Linked DNA regions of Homo sapiens: region 2 is linked to region 1. The links are contacts of gene promoters, found by promoter capture Hi-C in human tissues and cell types (Jung and others, 2019). All regions are on one chromosome and are shown on one strand. The core of a region is centred on a gene start or on the middle of the fragment in contact, and the rest is flanking DNA. Distances in the headings are between cores, read along the strand shown.

Evidence for each region. The method cuts DNA at HindIII sites, captures the fragments that hold promoters and counts their contacts. A contact is called where the count stands out against the background at its distance.
Region 2: a fragment that was not itself captured here is called in contact with the fragment with the promoter of AICDA in region 1 in 2 of the 25 tissues and cell types used here (aorta and liver).

Annotation. Positions count from the first base shown.
Region 1 is chr12:8,611,118-8,614,479 of GRCh38, reverse strand. It overlaps AICDA (activation induced cytidine deaminase), which reads left to right and starts at 1,621. Exons shown (of 5, transcript NM_020661.4): 1 at 1,621-1,720. The coding sequence starts at 1,713. The HindIII fragment of the contact is 12,992 bases long and covers 1-3,362 here.
Region 2 is chr12:8,536,088-8,539,449 of GRCh38, reverse strand. It overlaps CLEC4E (C-type lectin domain family 4 member E), which reads left to right. Exons shown (of 6, transcript NM_014358.4): 3 at 144-233; 4 at 2,184-2,335; 5 at 3,245-3,360. Among named protein-coding and RNA genes, the nearest start is that of CLEC4E, 3.1 kb to the left of the region's middle. The HindIII fragment of the contact is 4,467 bases long and covers 1-3,362 here.

The DNA.
Region 1 (3,362 bases), core at 372-2,871:
TGGAAGCAGAGATAACAGGATTTGCTAATGGAGTGTGCATGGAATTTAAAAGAAAGAGAGGAGCTGAGAGACACTCTGCCCAGGTTTTGCCAAGCAATTGGAAGAATACTGCTGTTTATTGAGATGGGAAAGACGGCAAGAAGAGTAGGTAAGGCAGAGAACAGGGGTTCTGTTTTAGACAGGCTGGAGGTGCTCAGACATCCAAATGGAGATTCTGAGAGGGAAGCTGGATACACTTGTCTTGAGTTTCAAGAAGTGGTCTGATAGATTTGCCTGTGTCCCCACCCAAATCTCATCTTGAATTGTAGTTCCCACAATTCCCACATGTCATGGGAGGGACCCAGTGGGAGGTAGTTGAACAATGGGGGTGGGTCTTTCCCATGCTGTTCTCATGATAGTGAATAAGTCTCACAAGATCTGATGGTTTTATAAAGGGATTTCCCCCTGCGTGAGCTCTCTCTTGCCTACCACCATGTAAGATGTCCCTTGCTCTTCTGCCATGATTGTGAGGCCTCCCCAGCCATGTGGAACTGTGAGTCAACTAAACCTCTTTCCTTTATAAATTACCCAGTCTCAGGCATGTCTTTATTAGCAGTGTGAGAACAGACGAATACATGGTCCAAGCTAGGGCTATTGATTTGAAAATCATCAAGGTATAGATGGTATCAAAGGCTTGAGGCAGGAAGAGAGCAGAGACCCTAGCTGCATTGCTTAGCATTGCATCCCTAGCACCTGGCATAGTTTCCATTAACAGTAGGCATGAAGTATCTACTCAGTGAATAAATAGAATGCATATGGGCTACAGTAGGAGAGAGAAATAAAATCTTTAATAGACCAAGTTCTATGAGAGCACAAAATTAAAGTCTTTTATTTGAAGATCTTAGCCTGTTTTCCAAATTCAGTGCAGCCAGTTAGACACTGAATCTGTCTGGTGAAACAAGCATTTTTGTATTTTGGGGGACTGCTGCTGCTTCTGACTCCAAATTAAGGATTTTTTTTTTTTCTAAAAAAGATGGCTCATGCAAAAATCACTCTTTGGTGTAAATATCTAGTCTTCAAGCAATTCTTGTAATGCAATCAGAAAGAAAAAAATCCATGGTTTGGGAGGCAAAATTTTTGTGTTCTAAATTCTATATAACTGAGTTCATTTGCTTAACTGCAAAGCAGGAGCTGCTAGTGCCTGTCTGTACTGAGGTTCAGAGAGACTGTGGGAATATGGGGGAATTAGAGGCTATCTGAGGCTCTTCAACACAATAACCCAAGAAGCTATTTAAATGCTCTTTAAGGTATTTACATAAATATTACTATTCTCATTGTGCTTTTATTTTGTGTTATCATGATTATAATTGAAGTGTCTACTGTTACTGCCTCCTGATCTTTGCTAGCTATGGAGCATGGACTGGGCTTTTAGAGCAGCAGCCCCAAAGGAACCTAAACATTAAAGCAGAGCTGCCCTCAATGGTTTAACCTGTGTGACTCTGCCTATGACAGCCCCACCCACCCATCTTCACTGGATCCAAATCAGGAGCAAGGCCGTTGGGGTACCTGGTGGGGGTGATGCTGTCAGGGGAGGAGCCCAAAAGGGCAAGCTCAAATTTGAATGTGAAGGGCCAATGCACTGTCAGACTAAGACAGAGAACCATCATTAATTGAAGTGAGATTTTTCTGGCCTGAGACTTGCAGGGAGGCAAGAAGACACTCTGGACACCACTATGGACAGGTAAAGAGGCAGTCTTCTCGTGGGTGATTGCACTGGCCTTCCTCTCAGAGCAAATCTGAGTAATGAGACTGGTAGCTATCCCTTTCTCTCATGTAACTGTCTGACTGATAAGATCAGCTTGATCAATATGCATATATATTTTTTGATCTGTCTCCTTTTCTTCTATTCAGATCTTATACGCTGTCAGCCCAATTCTTTCTGTTTCAGACTTCTCTTGATTTCCCTCTTTTTCATGTGGCAAAAGAAGTAGTGCGTACAATGTACTGATTCGTCCTGAGATTTGTACCATGGTTGAAACTAATTTATGGTAATAATATTAACATAGCAAATCTTTAGAGACTCAAATCATGAAAAGGTAATAGCAGTACTGTACTAAAAACGGTAGTGCTAATTTTCGTAATAATTTTGTAAATATTCAACAGTAAAACAACTTGAAGACACACTTTCCTAGGGAGGCGTTACTGAAATAATTTAGCTATAGTAAGAAAATTTGTAATTTTAGAAATGCCAAGCATTCTAAATTAATTGCTTGAAAGTCACTATGATTGTGTCCATTATAAGGAGACAAATTCATTCAAGCAAGTTATTTAATGTTAAAGGCCCAATTGTTAGGCAGTTAATGGCACTTTTACTATTAACTAATCTTTCCATTTGTTCAGACGTAGCTTAACTTACCTCTTAGGTGTGAATTTGGTTAAGGTCCTCATAATGTCTTTATGTGCAGTTTTTGATAGGTTATTGTCATAGAACTTATTCTATTCCTACATTTATGATTACTATGGATGTATGAGAATAACACCTAATCCTTATACTTTACCTCAATTTAACTCCTTTATAAAGAACTTACATTACAGAATAAAGATTTTTTAAAAATATATTTTTTTGTAGAGACAGGGTCTTAGCCCAGCCGAGGCTGGTCTCTAAGTCCTGGCCCAAGCGATCCTCCTGCCTGGGCCTCCTAAAGTGCTGGAATTATAGACATGAGCCATCACATCCAATATACAGAATAAAGATTTTTAATGGAGGATTTAATGTTCTTCAGAAAATTTTCTTGAGGTCAGACAATGTCAAATGTCTCCTCAGTTTACACTGAGATTTTGAAAACAAGTCTGAGCTATAGGTCCTTGTGAAGGGTCCATTGGAAATACTTGTTCAAAGTAAAATGGAAAGCAAAGGTAAAATCAGCAGTTGAAATTCAGAGAAAGACAGAAAAGGAGAAAAGATGAAATTCAACAGGACAGAAGGGAAATATATTATCATTAAGGAGGACAGTATCTGTAGAGCTCATTAGTGATGGCAAAATGACTTGGTCAGGATTATTTTTAACCCGCTTGTTTCTGGTTTGCACGGCTGGGGATGCAGCTAGGGTTCTGCCTCAGGGAGCACAGCTGTCCAGAGCAGCTGTCAGCCTGCAAGCCTGAAACACTCCCTCGGTAAAGTCCTTCCTACTCAGGACAGAAATGACGAGAACAGGGAGCTGGAAACAGGCCCCTAACCAGAGAAGGGAAGTAATGGATCAACAAAGTTAACTAGCAGGTCAGGATCACGCAATTCATTTCACTCTGACTGGTAACATGTGACAGAAACAGTGTAGGCTTATTGTATTTTCATGTAGAGTAGGACCCAAAAATCCACCCAAAGT
Region 2 (3,362 bases), core at 230-2,729, 75 kb after region 1:
TATTTTCTCTGGGTCGTAAGAAAAAGCAGATTGTAAGAAAAAACATGATAATTATTGGCACTTTTGTTATAAATACAAAACTGAGGGAACTGACATTTTTAACCGAAATAAGACTAACAAACATTATGCCCTTTCTTTTACAGTGACATTTCGCATCTTTCAAACCTGTGATGAGAAAAAGTTTCAGCTACCTGAGAATTTCACAGAGCTCTCCTGCTACAATTATGGATCAGGTATAATAGTCCCAAAGGTGAACATCAAAATTTACAAAGCAACATTTTCTGGCTTCTAGATTGACTTTGGGACAGGTGAGATATAGCTGGATTAGGTCTTATTTTTCAAAAGCAAAATGTAAAATCCTAGAAATTTGGTGATGCAATTAGCATTGGGGCAGAAAGTCTTGGGGACATTATAGTAAACTTTTAGAATAAATTTGAGGGGTATGTCTGAACAGTAAATCTGGAAGTGGAAGGTATTATTCCCAGGAGTGTACCTTTTTTTTCATTCACCTACTTCCAAAATGAGATGGAGAAAAAACGTATGGAGTAGAGAATTTATAAATATCTCACAAATATACTCTCTATGCTCTTCTATGTCATCCTGTTGCAAGTCCTAGCAAAATGCTACATGACACTAAAAAAGTGACTTCCTTCTCTGAGCTATAATTTTCTCACCATTAAATTGAGAGAAGTTAGAAGAATTATTTATAATAGACCTCAAAGGCAAAAGTTCTGTAATTCTAAGAAATCTAACTGTAGGGACCAGCCCCACAGGGTTGGTGGGTCTCTCCCTGTGTCCAGAGACGAGAGCATGTAGAAATAAAGACACAAGACAAAGAGATAAAAGAAAAGGCAGCTGGGCCCAAGGGACCACTACCACCAATGCGCGGAGACCGGTAGTGGCTCCGAATGTCTGGCTGCGCTGTTATTTATTGGATACAAGGTGAAAGGGGCAGGGTAGAGAGTGTGAGTCATCTCCAATGATAGGTAAGGTCATGTGGGTCACGTGTCCACTGGACAGGGGGACCTTCCCTGCCTGGCAGCCGAGGCAGAGAGGGAGAGGAGACAGAGAGAAAGACAGCTTACGCTATTATTTCTGCATATCAGGGACTATTAGTACTTTCGCTAATTTACTACTGCTATCTAGAAGGCAGAGCCAGGTGTACAGGATGGAACATGAAGGCAGACTAGGAGTGTGACCACTGAAGCACAGCATCACAGGGAGACGGTTAGGCCTCCGGATAACTGCGGGCAAGCCTGACTAATGTCAGGCCCTCCACAAGAGGTGGAGGAGCAGAGTCTTCTCTAAACTCCCCCAGGGAAAGGAAGACTCCCTTTTCCTGTCTGCTAAGTAGCGGGTGTTTTCCCTTGACACTTAACGCTACCGCTAGACCACAGTCTGTCTGCCTGGCCACGGGCGTCTTCCCAGACGCTGGCGTCACCGCTAGACCAAGGAGCCCTCTGGTGGCCCTGTCCGGGCATAACGGAAGGCTCGCACTCTTGTCTTCTGGTCACACCTCACTATGTCCCCTCAGCTCGTAGCTCTGTACGGCCTGGTTTTTCCTTGGCTATGATTATAGAGCGAGGATTATTATAATATTGGAATAAAAAGTAATTGCTACAAACTAATGATTAATGATATTCATATATAATCATATCTAAGATCTATATCTGGTATAACTATTCTTGTTTTATATTTTATTATACTGGAACAGCTCGTGTCCTCTGTCTCTTGCCTCAGCGCCTGGGTGGCTTGCCGCCCACATCTAACCCATCTATATACTACAGTATGGAGATTTGATTGAGGATACATTGTTTAGGTAACATAAGAGATGGCTCTTTGGGGGTCACCCAAATAAAATGCATAAATTTCTCTGACATTAGTAGTCTAAGAACAGATAATAAGGTTCTATATCAATAGCATAACTAAGATAGTTTGCATATATAGTTGCATTTCCTGGCACTGACATCCAGAGAATGAGAATTACGTTCAAAAGACCAAAAACATTCTGTTTATGTTTCTTGACATTGGAATTATCTAAAGTCTTAGATACTAAGATGTAGGGTATGAACAAGTGATTCCAAGGCTTCTGACTTAAATGAGGACTCCATGGGGCCAGATGAAGCTTTGGGTTTTCTTATTCGGTTCACCTGGGACACTCACTGAAACATCTCTCATCCTAGGTTCAGTCAAGAATTGTTGTCCATTGAACTGGGAATATTTTCAATCCAGCTGCTACTTCTTTTCTACTGACACCATTTCCTGGGCGTTAAGTTTAAAGAACTGCTCAGCCATGGGGGCTCACCTGGTGGTTATCAACTCACAGGAGGAGCAGGTAGCTGGAGTCCTCCGATGCCAATGTAACATTCCCGACATGGTCCACCTCTCTTTTCATACATATGCACAGTGCTTGACCCCCAATGACTATTGTTAATGAATGTACTAAAATGCATGCTGTTCTTACTATTTCGGTAAAGTCACTGCCTACCTTAATTTATTTTCCTTCCTAGAAGAACCTAAGAAAAAGGGAATTTCCATGTGGAGTTCCTTTAGTTAGGCAAGGGGAAAAAGAGGGTTGGAAGTGTTAATTTTAGACGAATCGTTATGTTTATGAACATATTATATGAAAGAAGAGAAGCAAATATTGTCCGTTTTCTTTAAGCTGTGATTAATAATATTTTGCGCTAGATATATTCAATAAATTTGGCCACCAATAATAGTAGATAAACTTTGAAAGAATTATTGAGGATCTCCTTTTCTGTTGAAGGTTATTTTTTCAGTTTAATTTTATGTTATGTATATTTTACCACAAAAAAAAATCAGTAGATAATCCTCATGATCTTACAGTTTCACTTATCTGTTATTTCTCATCCAGATTCTTTTTTACTTTTTGAGATGGAGTCTTGCTGTGTTGCCCAGGCTGGAGTGCAGTGGCGCAATCTCGGCTCACTGCAACCTCTGCCTCCCAGGTTCAAGCGATTCTCCTGCCTCAGCCTCCCAAGTAGCTGGGACTACAGGCACCCGCCACCATGCCTGGCAAATTTTTTTATACTTTTAGTAGAGACAGGGTTTCGCCATGTTGGTCAAGCTGGTCTTGAACTCCTGACCTCAGGTGATCCACCCGCCTCGGCCTCCCAAAGTGCTAGGATCTCATCCAGATTCTTACCTCTTTGAATAATAATTACTAGCAACGTTTATTCAAAACTAAAATAACTGATCTCCTTTTATTTTGTATCTTCCATAGGAATTCCTTTCCTACAAGAAACCTAAAATGAGAGAGTTTTTTATTGGACTGTCAGACCAGGTTGTCGAGGGTCAGTGGCAATGGGTGGACGGCACACCTTTGACAAAGTCTCTGAGGT